3 separate regions of the Homo sapiens genome follow, and all the other regions are linked to region 1. The links are contacts of gene promoters, found by promoter capture Hi-C in human tissues and cell types (Jung and others, 2019). All regions are on one chromosome and are shown on one strand. The core of a region is centred on a gene start or on the middle of the fragment in contact, and the rest is flanking DNA. Distances in the headings are between cores, read along the strand shown.

The links. The method cuts DNA at HindIII sites, captures the fragments that hold promoters and counts their contacts. A contact is called where the count stands out against the background at its distance.
Region 2: a contact is called between a fragment that was not itself captured here and the fragment with the promoter of NCKIPSD in region 1, in 3 of the 25 tissues and cell types used here (dorsolateral prefrontal cortex, mesenchymal stem cells and neural progenitor cells).
Region 3: the fragment with the promoter of COL7A1 here is called in contact with the fragment with the promoter of NCKIPSD in region 1 in 1 of the 25 tissues and cell types used here (mesenchymal stem cells).

The regions. Positions count from the first base shown.
Region 1 is chr3:48,684,186-48,687,610 of GRCh38, forward strand. It overlaps NCKIPSD (NCK interacting protein with SH3 domain), which reads right to left and starts at 1,730. Exons shown (of 13, transcript NM_016453.4): 1 at 1,452-1,730. The coding sequence starts at 1,622. RefSeq lists silencers at 1,238-1,957, 1,351-1,645 and enhancers at 1,842-2,573, 2,168-2,237. The HindIII fragment of the contact is 9,717 bases long and covers 264-3,425 here.
Region 2 is chr3:48,763,403-48,766,835 of GRCh38, forward strand. It overlaps PRKAR2A (protein kinase cAMP-dependent type II regulatory subunit alpha), which reads right to left. Exons shown (of 11, transcript NM_004157.4): 7 at 1,846-1,947; 8 at 1,602-1,676. Among named protein-coding and RNA genes, the nearest start is that of IP6K2, 48 kb to the left of the region's middle. RefSeq lists a silencer at 521-721. The HindIII fragment of the contact is 5,722 bases long and covers 1-3,433 here.
Region 3 is chr3:48,593,970-48,597,402 of GRCh38, forward strand. COL7A1 (collagen type VII alpha 1 chain) reads right to left here and starts at 1,360. Exons shown (of 119, transcript NM_000094.4): 1 at 1,299-1,360; 2 at 1,106-1,191; 3 at 399-579. The coding sequence starts at 1,190. The HindIII fragment of the contact is 15,548 bases long and covers 1-3,433 here.

The DNA of each region.
Region 1 (3,425 bases), core at 480-2,979:
AGAGAGGCACAGAGTCGCAGCAATCCAGACAGAAAGAGACACGCAGAAAGAAACAGACAGTGACAGAGAAGATGGTAGCCTCTCTGCCCTCCCCAAACACCTTGCCCCACTGGTCCTGGCTGGCGGCAGGGGACTCACAGGCCCTTGACCTATGCCCAGTAGGGGAAGAGACAGGACTTTTCCTCAGAGGCCTTCAATGAGACCCCATTCCCAAAAAGGTTGGGTCTGACACACAGCAGCCATGGTGTCCACGGCCCCCACTCCCACCCCTGGCACTCCTAGATGGGATCACGCCAAGGGTCTATGAGGAAGCCCCTAGGCCCCCAGGGCCCATCCTTCCTGGTAAGACCAGATGACACTTCCAAATTTATCCCGTTATTTCTGTCCTGAACTGGGCTGGGACAGGATGTTTCCTAAAGGATAAGGACTAGGACGGGGCGGGGGTGTCTGGCACAGGCCCGGCAGCTCTGGGCCCTTCTTCCCCCTGTGGTCAGAATAGACCAGCTGGAGATACGCACCCCAACCCCCGCAGCAGGGCTACTCTTAGGGAAACAGGAACTGGGACTGCAGCTTCCACTGGAAGGAAATGGGGCCACGATCAGACCAGGAGAAGCTATAAGAACTCACTTCATCACAATGTGAGCAGTCCCCACTCCAGGCTGGGAACAAGTAGGGATGGAACCCATTTTCAAAGCAAGAAAGTTTGAGAAGTCAGGGTTGGGGAGTGGAGCAGACAGTGTCAGCAGGGGCATGGGTCCTTGGTTCAAATAAGGTTGGTAGAGACTTAAGAAGAGCTTAGAGGGTGGCTGAACACAGGCTAGTGAAAGACACTGAAGTACCAAAGCTTGGGTGTTACATAGGGGATGGAGGTGTCTATGGCTCTAGGGTCCAAGTTGGGGGGTTGAGGACCTGGAGAATGGCTAGGGAAACAGGTGGTGTCCAAGGTGGTCCAGGTCTCAGTGGTGGCTCCAACGGGGGGCAAGGCGCGGGGTTGGGGGAAGAAGGAAGGGAGGGAGGGAGGGAGGGAGGGAGGGAGGGAGGGAGGTTGGTTGTGGGGTCCTAGGAATCCAGAGAAGGGGCATATTAAGGATCTGGGGTCTCAGGGATTTGAATAATTGGCCAGGATTCGGTGGGGCTCAGGGTCGCCATTCAGATGGCGGACTCGATACTGAAGGGTCTGGGGTCCTGAGGAGTCTCAGTCCCAGAGTTAGGCTTTTGGTCGATCGGGAGTTGGTCTGTCAAGGGCCTGGTCTTTTGTGGGTGATGCTGACACTTGGGGTCTCAGTCCCCGTGGGTCCGGGGGTCTCAGGGTCAGGTTCTCAAACTCCCTGTCTGATAGAGGTCCTGGCCTCGGGTCCCGGAGAGGGTGGGGTCCCTGGGTCGGTTCCGCGGGGCTGTGAAGGGGTCCTGCCCCAGGGGCGCGGAGGCCGGGCGGGAAGGGGCGCACTCACCTGCAGGCGGCGCAGGTAGGCTGGCGGCACGTAGCCCGTCTCACCACTGCGCGCCCGCGCGGCCAGCCACCAGTGCGCGCTGCTTCGCTCTAGCACCAGGAAGGTCTCGCCCGCGGCGAACGCCAGCGCGTTGGGCTCCGCCGAGCGGAACGCGTACAGCGCGCGGTACATGAGGCCGGGCAGGGCAGGTGCAGGGAAGGTGGCAAGGGCTGCGGCGCCACAACGCCAGGCCGGGAGCGCCGAGCCGCGCCGCGGTTGTCCCGCCCCGTGACACACTACGCAGGCGCGCGCGCGCCCGCCCGCCGAAGCCCCGCCCCGGGCTGTATCGTTCCACGCATCGGAGAGCAGCGCCCCCGCGCGGCCCCAAGAGGTGCGGCGGGGCTGGGGTCGACAGCTCGCTGTCTCCTCTGGTCCCTCCCGGCTCCAGGCCCCTCATCCCCGGACACCGCACCCTCACTCCTCACCCCGGCCTCAGTTTCACCCGTCCAGCCCTCTGCTCCCTTTCCCCGCTTAAGTCCGAGCGCTGCGTCCCGTCCTACCTCCCGGTGAAAGCGCGCTCCGCTCGTAGCGGGTGCGCCCCTACCGCCCTGGGGCAGTGGGTCCCATCTACTAATTGCAAGGACGGCGACCTCGAAAGGATGATCTTGCTGATCCGACACTTGGAAGCCCCCGCGGGGCCCGGCTCTCGGTGTGTCTAGGCCTCACCACCTGTCTTCACCGAGTGCCGGTGGTGGCCAGTGGGGAGCAAGTGTGGGGAGAAGGGGGCCACAAAAGCAGAAACCAGGCGGGGCTATTCCCTGTCTAAAGCCCTCCCATCTTTGCTCCCCACCCCTACTCCTCCTCTCTCTTCAGCTATGGCTGGTTTTCTCTATATTGGGCCTTTGCATATTCTGTTCCCTCTACCTGGGACAATTTTCCCTTCCCTCTCCTATAGTATTTGTCCGTCAAGCTCCCACCCCCATCAATCGCTATCATCTTGCTGTGTTTTATTGTCTTTATAGGACTTAAGATTTGCGATGCCCCTTTCTGAGAGCATAGAGGAGGGCTGAAAGAGGGAGTGGGGTACCACGGTGGCCTTAAGAGCCTATTTGATCCACCCAGCTTTCCAGTCAGCCCAGATCTCCAGATATATGAAATCCGTGTAATAAGAGTGCCTGGAAGACCCAGGGAAGAGGCCCTCAGGGTCCTGGAGAGACTGTGGCTGAGAATGGTCCAGCTACGCTCCACAGGAAGCCCGAGCCCAGGAAGCAGGAGGCGTGTACAGGCCAGTGTGTGCAAGTTTTCTATTTTTATCTGTATTTATTTTTTGAGACAGGGTCTTGCTCTGTCGTCCAGGCTGGAGTGCAGTGGGATGATCAAGCTCATTGCAGCCTTGATCTTCCAGGCTCAAGCCTACTGTCTCTGGGACTACAGGCATGCACCACCACACTCAGCTTTTTTTTTTTTTTTTTTTTTTTTTTTTTTTAGTAGAGACAAGGTCTTGCTATGTTGCTCTGGCTAGTCTCAAATTCCCGGACTCAAGCAGTCCTCCCAGTGTTGGGATTATGGGTGTCTGTCTGACCCAGTTGCCTATTTTTAGGCCTAAAGTACATAGGCCTAGTGTGAGGTTCAGGTGAGGGGTAGAACTGCTAGAAACTGACATCCAGACCCTGCCTTCTCTGCACCAGGTCTGGCTCTTCAGTTCAAGACCTCTCTTGGCCCTTCCTCCTCCCAGAAGCCCTCCTGGGGCAGGGCAGAATCTCGGGGTCTGTGCTGTCTGGGACTGCCTGAAGAATAAGACTGGTGAAATTGCAATGGGGACTAGGGCTGGGCAGGAGTGGTGACAGGTGGTGTGGCCAAGAGGACCACCCTACCTGCCCAAACACGCCTTTTTATGGTACCCTCCATCACCTGGGCCCCTTTACAACACAGTCCATGGCTGCCAATGGACCAGACCCGAGGCTAGAGACCCTAGTATTGCTTCCAGGACATCTA
Region 2 (3,433 bases), core at 368-2,867, 79 kb after region 1:
CATGAAGAAAACACTATTGACTTCTCACATCTCCTGACATACTTCCTGAAAACCCAGTATGAGACAGGCCTAGAACCTTCAGGATGACTTGAAGGTCCTTTGAATGTTACTTAAAGCACCTTAGGTTCAGAAGCAAATGTGGCCAGTTAACATCTCCCATTTCTGAATCTCAGCACTACATTCTTACCATACCAGGATACCTGCTCTGAAACACAGCTCACACCACTGGCCTTTGCTAATATTGTTTTCTTGCTCTGAAGGACCTTTCCCTGATCCCAAACATTGAAATTGCACTTGTTTTTTAAGCCCATCTCAAATGGCATTTCCTCAATGAAACCATATGTATTACTTCCATTTCTATGTTCTCACTGTCGTTCATACTCTCCTTCATTATAGTGCTTATCATATCTGGTCCTACCTATCTTAATAAATGTTTATAGAATATTCCAATTTCTAATTAAAAGAATTATTAATAGTAACGGCTCCTAGAAAACAAATACATTTAGAGATGTGACTCAGAGTAGACATCATATTTTTGTTAGTCCTTTATCTCTTCCAAGGGAGCTTTTTTCTCCCCTTTTATGGTAAGTCTGATTAGTCCTTGTGTTCTAGTGGGGCCAACTCCACCCACAGGACCCACACCTGACCAATCTGAGCCTTTCCTCCTCGTAGTCTCAGTACTGGGTTCTAGGATAAGCATATCACCCAACCTAGACCAACCATGTATCTTCTCCGTGCTCTTGAGCCAGAACCATAGGCAGATAAGCTTATACCTGGAAAAGTCCAATACTATTTATGTTTAATTAAAAATACAAACACAGCGGACAAAGAAAATTATCAGACAGTACTCATTACAATGATCTAGCCCACTGTTTAGTAATCTTTACATCTTACAAATTTGGTTAATCACTGAAGACTGTGAACTCTGATTTGTGTTAGATTAGCCAAAAGGATGCCTTTGTGTCAAATATAGAAAGTTAGAGGACAGAACTCTTTAACCTTCCCCAGGTTCTAATAGCAATGGATGAAACTTACTTAAGGTCAAAAGAAAATGACATCAAAAGAACAAACACTAGAAGCCAAGGAAAGGTGAGAGGAAGCAAGAGATCTGCACGTGTCAGTAAGACGGACGTCAATAAGCTTCAGAGGACTACATAATAGTCCTCTGAAGTATGATCTATTACCTGGTAATAAGAGCTCCCAACAGTGGGAGAACATAGAAGGTTTTTTGGTTTTTTTTTGAAATGGAGTCTTGCTCTGTTGCCCAGGCTGGAGGCAGTGGCGCAATCTCGACTCACTGAAACCTTTGCCTCCTGGGTTCCAGCAATTCTCCCGCCTCAGCCTCCCAAGTAGCTGGGATTACAGGCATGGGCCACCACACCCAGCTAATTTTTGTATTTTTAGTAGAGATGGAGTTTTACCATGTTGGCCAGGCTGGTCTTGAACTCCTGGCCTCAAGTGATCCACCTGCCTCAGCCTCCCGAAGTGTTGGGATTACAGGCGTGAGCCACTGCGTCCGGCAAGAAGTTTTTGAGATAAATGATGTACTAGTTCTTCAGGGGTGACTTCCAGGAAAGGAGCTGCGTAAAGCCCTCACTCACCTGAGTGATTATGCGTTCTCCATCCTTATAGATCTTCTCTCCTATTACATCCACAATCTTCATTCGTTCTGACACCTGAAACAACAAATTCACAAATAAAAGGAAAAGACCTTAATTGAAAGTCACAATAGCTATGCAGCACAGAAATAGGATTAGAATAGTATGATTTGAAAACCTAACAACAGAATAGTTTTAAAAGCTTTTCCTGATCCCCATGAACAGATTCTTATTCAAGCCACTTTACCTCTAGTGATTTAAGGAGGGGCACAGACTCAATAAATGATTCAAACATCTTCCTCTTCTTTGCATTATTTTTCACTATGATTCTTCTAAAAGTCACCCGGTCCTACAAGAAAGAATATGAAAATTCTAGTAAATGCCTATATACAGGAACATCTATGGTTTAATTAACTGGCCAAAGCAAATATTAGAGGAATATGTAAGTTACTGTGTTAATTAAGTGTTTAATGATACTTCAATCTTGAGTCATCACTGGAAGTAAAGGACCTATAGCCTGAGCCAGCCAGATGCCCACATGCTGTTGCTTGCTATCTAGCACTCAATAGGTGCCACCTATGGGTCATAAATAGAACCCAAAACAGAAAACACCTAAACATTTATGAGCTCACTGTCACTGTTCAATATCAAAAAAGACACCTCTAGTGAGCCGAGATCATGTCACTGCACTCCAGCCTGGGTGACAGAGTGAGACCCTCATTTCAAAAAAAAAAAAAAAAAAAAAAAAGAGACACCTCACCAAAAGAGAGAATAAAACAATCATTTAATCCTTAGAATCCAGGATTTAAAAAAACTTAAAAAATCCAAAACAATTAGATTGTTCTTGCCTAAAAAAAGAACAATTAGATTGTTCTTACCCTAAAAAAGTTTACAATCTTAATGGGGAGATAATATAAAATATCAAAATATGAAGGTTGGCTGAATGCAGTGGCTCACTGCCTGTACTCCTAGCATTTTGGGAGGCTAAGGTGGGCAAATTGCTTGAGCCCAGGAGTATGAGACCAGCCTAGGCAACATGGTGAAACACGCTCTCTACGAAAAAATACACAAAAAAAGTTAGCTGGGCATGGTGGCACTTGTCTGTACTTGGGTGGCTGAGGTGAAAGGCTCACCAGAGCCTGAGAGGTCAAAGCTGCAGTGAGTTGTGATTGTACCACTGCATTCCAGCCTGGGCAGCAGAGTGACACTATGTCCCAAAAACAACAATATCAACAACAACAACAACAACAACAAAATACATAGGAATAAAAAGTCTACATTTCAAGGACAGGTGCAGTGGCTCACACCTGTAATCCCAGCATTCTGGGAGGCTGAGTCAGACAGATCACTTGAGCTCAGGAGTTCAAGACCAGGCTGTGCAACATGGTGAAACCCCATCTCTACAGAAAATACAAAAATTAGCTGGGCATGGTGGCGTTTGTCTAGTCCCAGCTAGTTGGGAGGCTGAGGCTGGAGAATCACTTGAGCTCAGGAGGCTAAGGTTGCAGTGAGCTGAGATTGCGCCACTGCACTCCAGCCTGGGTGACATAAGTTGAAACTGTGTCTCAAAAAAAAATAAAATAAAAATAAAAAGTCTACAGTTCAAGACAGCATATGAGCATATGAAATGTGCTTGATGAAACTACAGAAGACAAGTGCCACATAAATTTCAAGGTAAGAAGGGGAGATCACAGTAGGCAGGAGTGATCAAAGATTATTTTGCAGCAAAAATGTCTAGGACCTGAAAGAGAGGTAGGATTTAAGTTAATGGAGAGACACGGGAGGAATACGCAAGATGGAAGGCAGGCATATGAAAGATACCTTGACTCTAGCAA
Region 3 (3,433 bases), core at 110-2,609, 91 kb before region 1:
TAATTGCAGGAGGAGGGGTCCAGATGTAGGAAAGTGGATGCTGGCCAGATGGAGCACCTCTGGTGAACGGCTGCAAGGGTTAGAGGGCTAGAACGTGGAGAATCCAACAGGCGTGGGGGCCCCCTCCTGGGCTCCCCATCTCCAGATCAGAAAACACAGCCTCACTGTCTTGCACCTTCCTGTCTTGCAGTAGCCTGGAGGTGCCTCAGGGCACGAAGGTTCTACCTAGGGAATCCTTACCTCTGTCTCCAAAGGAGGTCCTGGCTAGGGGGTCTCTAGGTTCCCCAAAACTTGTTTCTGCAAAGACCTGGCCTGGGGTTTCCAGGGTCTCCTCCCTCTCTGGGGAAGGAGTCTTGGTGGGGATCTCGTGGTCCCCAGCCCCCAGGGCCCCTACTCACCGTGGGTCATCGCTGTACTGCACTGTGGCAAAGCGCACACCCTGTGCACTGGCTGCTCCAGAGAAAGGCAGCACCAGCCCTTCGAGAAAGCTGCGGACCTCGCGGAAATTGCTGCGGCCAATGGATGAGGAGCCATCCAGTAAGAACACAATGTCAGCGGCGTAAAGGCGCGTGCAGGTCACTGGGGCGGGCAGGAGAGATCAGGGCCTCTTCTGGGAGGCCAACCACCCGCCTACCCGCACGGTGGCCTCACTGGGACTTGGGATGGTGGGGAGAGTAGGCCTCATCTTATGCAAACCAGGGCCGAATCGGCCTGAGCCTGAGGGCCTTGGAGGGAGTTGAGCTCGGTGGGTCCCAGAGCAGACTCCCGCGGAGGGTTGGGGGTGTGCGGGGGAGGGAGAGTCGCCAGCACGGGTGTGGACTTGGGACTGAGGTCAGCCTCTAGGGGCCGGCGTGGATTGGCATAAGGCAGGGGACCCCGCACGCATCCAGGGAGCCAGAATTTGGGTAGGAACAGGATAGGAGGCGGTTTAGGGAACCCAGCACCGATCGCGGAGGGTTCGGGGAGTCCCAGAATTAGGAGGAATCCGCGGGGCGTCGTGGAGTTGGCTGGGTTGTGGGCGGGGGGTGTTGGGGATGAAGGCCGAGTGGAGCGGAGGGTGGCACGGTGCAGTGCCCCGGGCCGGGTCCTCCCTTGCGGTGCCCACCTCTCTCCCTGTGCTGGGCTCGCACTCGGGGCGCCTCTGCCAGGATCCCGGCGCAGAGCGCGGCCACCAGAAGCCGCAGCGTCATCCTAGGCAGTAAAAGCCGTCAGCTAGGACCCCCGCCTCTGTCCCTTGCTCCCCCGTGGCCTTGGCAGGTCCGAGCCCAGCGCCCCTCCAGCCCGAGTCCTGGTCTTGCCTGCGCGTCCGCCCGCTCCCGCCGCCGCCGCTGCAGTCTCTCGGGCAGAGCAGAGAAAAGTCCCTGATCTCGGGGGGCGGAGCGGCAGGCGGGAACCCAGGCACCCGCCCTCACCCATATCCCTGAGAGGTCGCCGCCCCCCCCACCCCTCCCCCAGACAAACGATATGACGCACTTAACTATAAACCCCCCGACCCCCCGTGGCTTCTGGGAATTTCCCAGAAGGTTCTGCATGGGCAGATGCTGAGGGAGTACCCCTAACTCCATCTAAGGTCACAGGTCTTGGCTGCTTTAGGTCAATCACAGTGACCAGGCTGAGGAGTGGACAGGTTCCTGCAGAGCCACAAGGCAGCAGCGCCGTGGGGGGTGGGGCTGCAGTTGGGGATGACTCACCCCCAATCCAGTGGGGGTGCCCAGACAAGCCCTCAGGCCATGGGTCCCGCCGGCCACTCCTGTGATTCAGCCATCTGTCTGGTGGGCCTCCTGGGCCCCACCCGGATCTCCTTGACAGGCAAGAAGCCCTGGCAAATGAGTGACTCTGGGCCGGTCTTAGGGAAACCAAGGTCCCCTTGGCCTGGATCCAAGTAACTCACCCCCTCTTTGTAGGGGATAAGCCGGAAGGAGGAGAGAACCTGTGTCATGCTTATGCATACATCCCAGTGTCCCACATCCCCTACCATGTCACAGGCAGATGCAATCCAGCTGTGCCTGCAGGGAGGGGGCCGCCCATCTGTGGAGGGCGGGACCACCCACAGTGACAGCTCATCTCTCAGGAATCGAGCCCTCCATGCCCCAGGCCAGGTCCCCCTACCTACATGTCCTCACCCACAGGCATCCTCTCCTTCCATCTACTTTTCTTGTAGGTCCCTGCCACCCATCTCCCCTACCAGGCCGAGGTCCCCTTGGGCCCCTTCCTCCTTTCCTCACTGCCCTCATGGTACCTGTAGCTTCCAGCTTCATAACTGCCCCCTACCTTACTCCTGTCCCCTTACCCAGGCTGACTTCACACCCTCCCCCAGCTTCGCTTCTGAGGCTGTGGACAGTCCTCCAACACACACCACGCCAGGGCCACTGTCCGAAGGAGGTGGGGCTCTGTATATGCATATCTCTCCATTAGATGGGTGACACTAAGGCAGAGAGGCACTGCTAAGAAGGGCAGGCCCCCATCTGGGTCCTGCTCCCCCTTTTTTTCCTGCTAATCCTGAATAACTCTGGGCAGCCCAGAAAGCACATCTATACTCACCAAGGCTGCTGGGCCCCTTCTAATATGCCCGGCCCCACAGCCTCCCCTGGGATCCACAGGGAGATATGGGGACAGCACTGGCTGGACTCCTCCACAGCCCGAGGACTCTGGTGTGGCCAGAGCTGGAGGCAGTGAAGACCATCCATGCTGCCTGCTTTCCTATTGCCCAAGGAAGGCTGGGGCTCTATCCCTTATTACTGACCCCCCAAACTATCCTGGGGCATAGTGCTATGACCTTATTCCAAGGTCAGGGTCTCCTCAGCCATGTCCCAGGACCCCCCATCCCTGCAAGGTGTGCTCCAGGTGGGGGGCTGCAGAGAACCAGGTATGTTATCACACAGGCAGCCCCTTCCCCCTAAGACTGTCACCTCCTCCCGTGCAGCCAGGGCGGGCAAGAGCAGGCCAGTGGCATGGACAGTACGGTACAGACATATGTGCACACGTGGGCCAGTCTTAGGGGAGACAGGAGGCCCAGCTGGGAGGGTGGGTGCTCAGGCAAACCTCATCAGAATTGAGGTGCCTCCAAAAGAAAGGACAGGCTGCTGTGAGAGGGTCTCTCAAAGGGTGCTGGGAGAGGCTGTTGAGAAGGTAGGAGTAAGGTTGGAATGACTCCACGTCTGGAGCTTCTATGAGACTCACGAGCAGGAGTGTGGCCCTCTGAAGCCCCAGCTCTGGCCTCCTGGGAGGAACACAGCCTAGGGCACAGCCCGAGGCCAGTGCCTACCTGCAACCCCATCAGGGCGGTGGAGCCCCCAGAGCACATCCTTCTCCCTCCCAAGCTTTCCCTGAACATTTCCTTCCCTGGCCTCAGTCACTACCTCACCCCATCTGTTTCCAACCAGGGCCTCTTTATCAGGTCCCAGCCCCACACATCCCACTGTACCCTGGACAC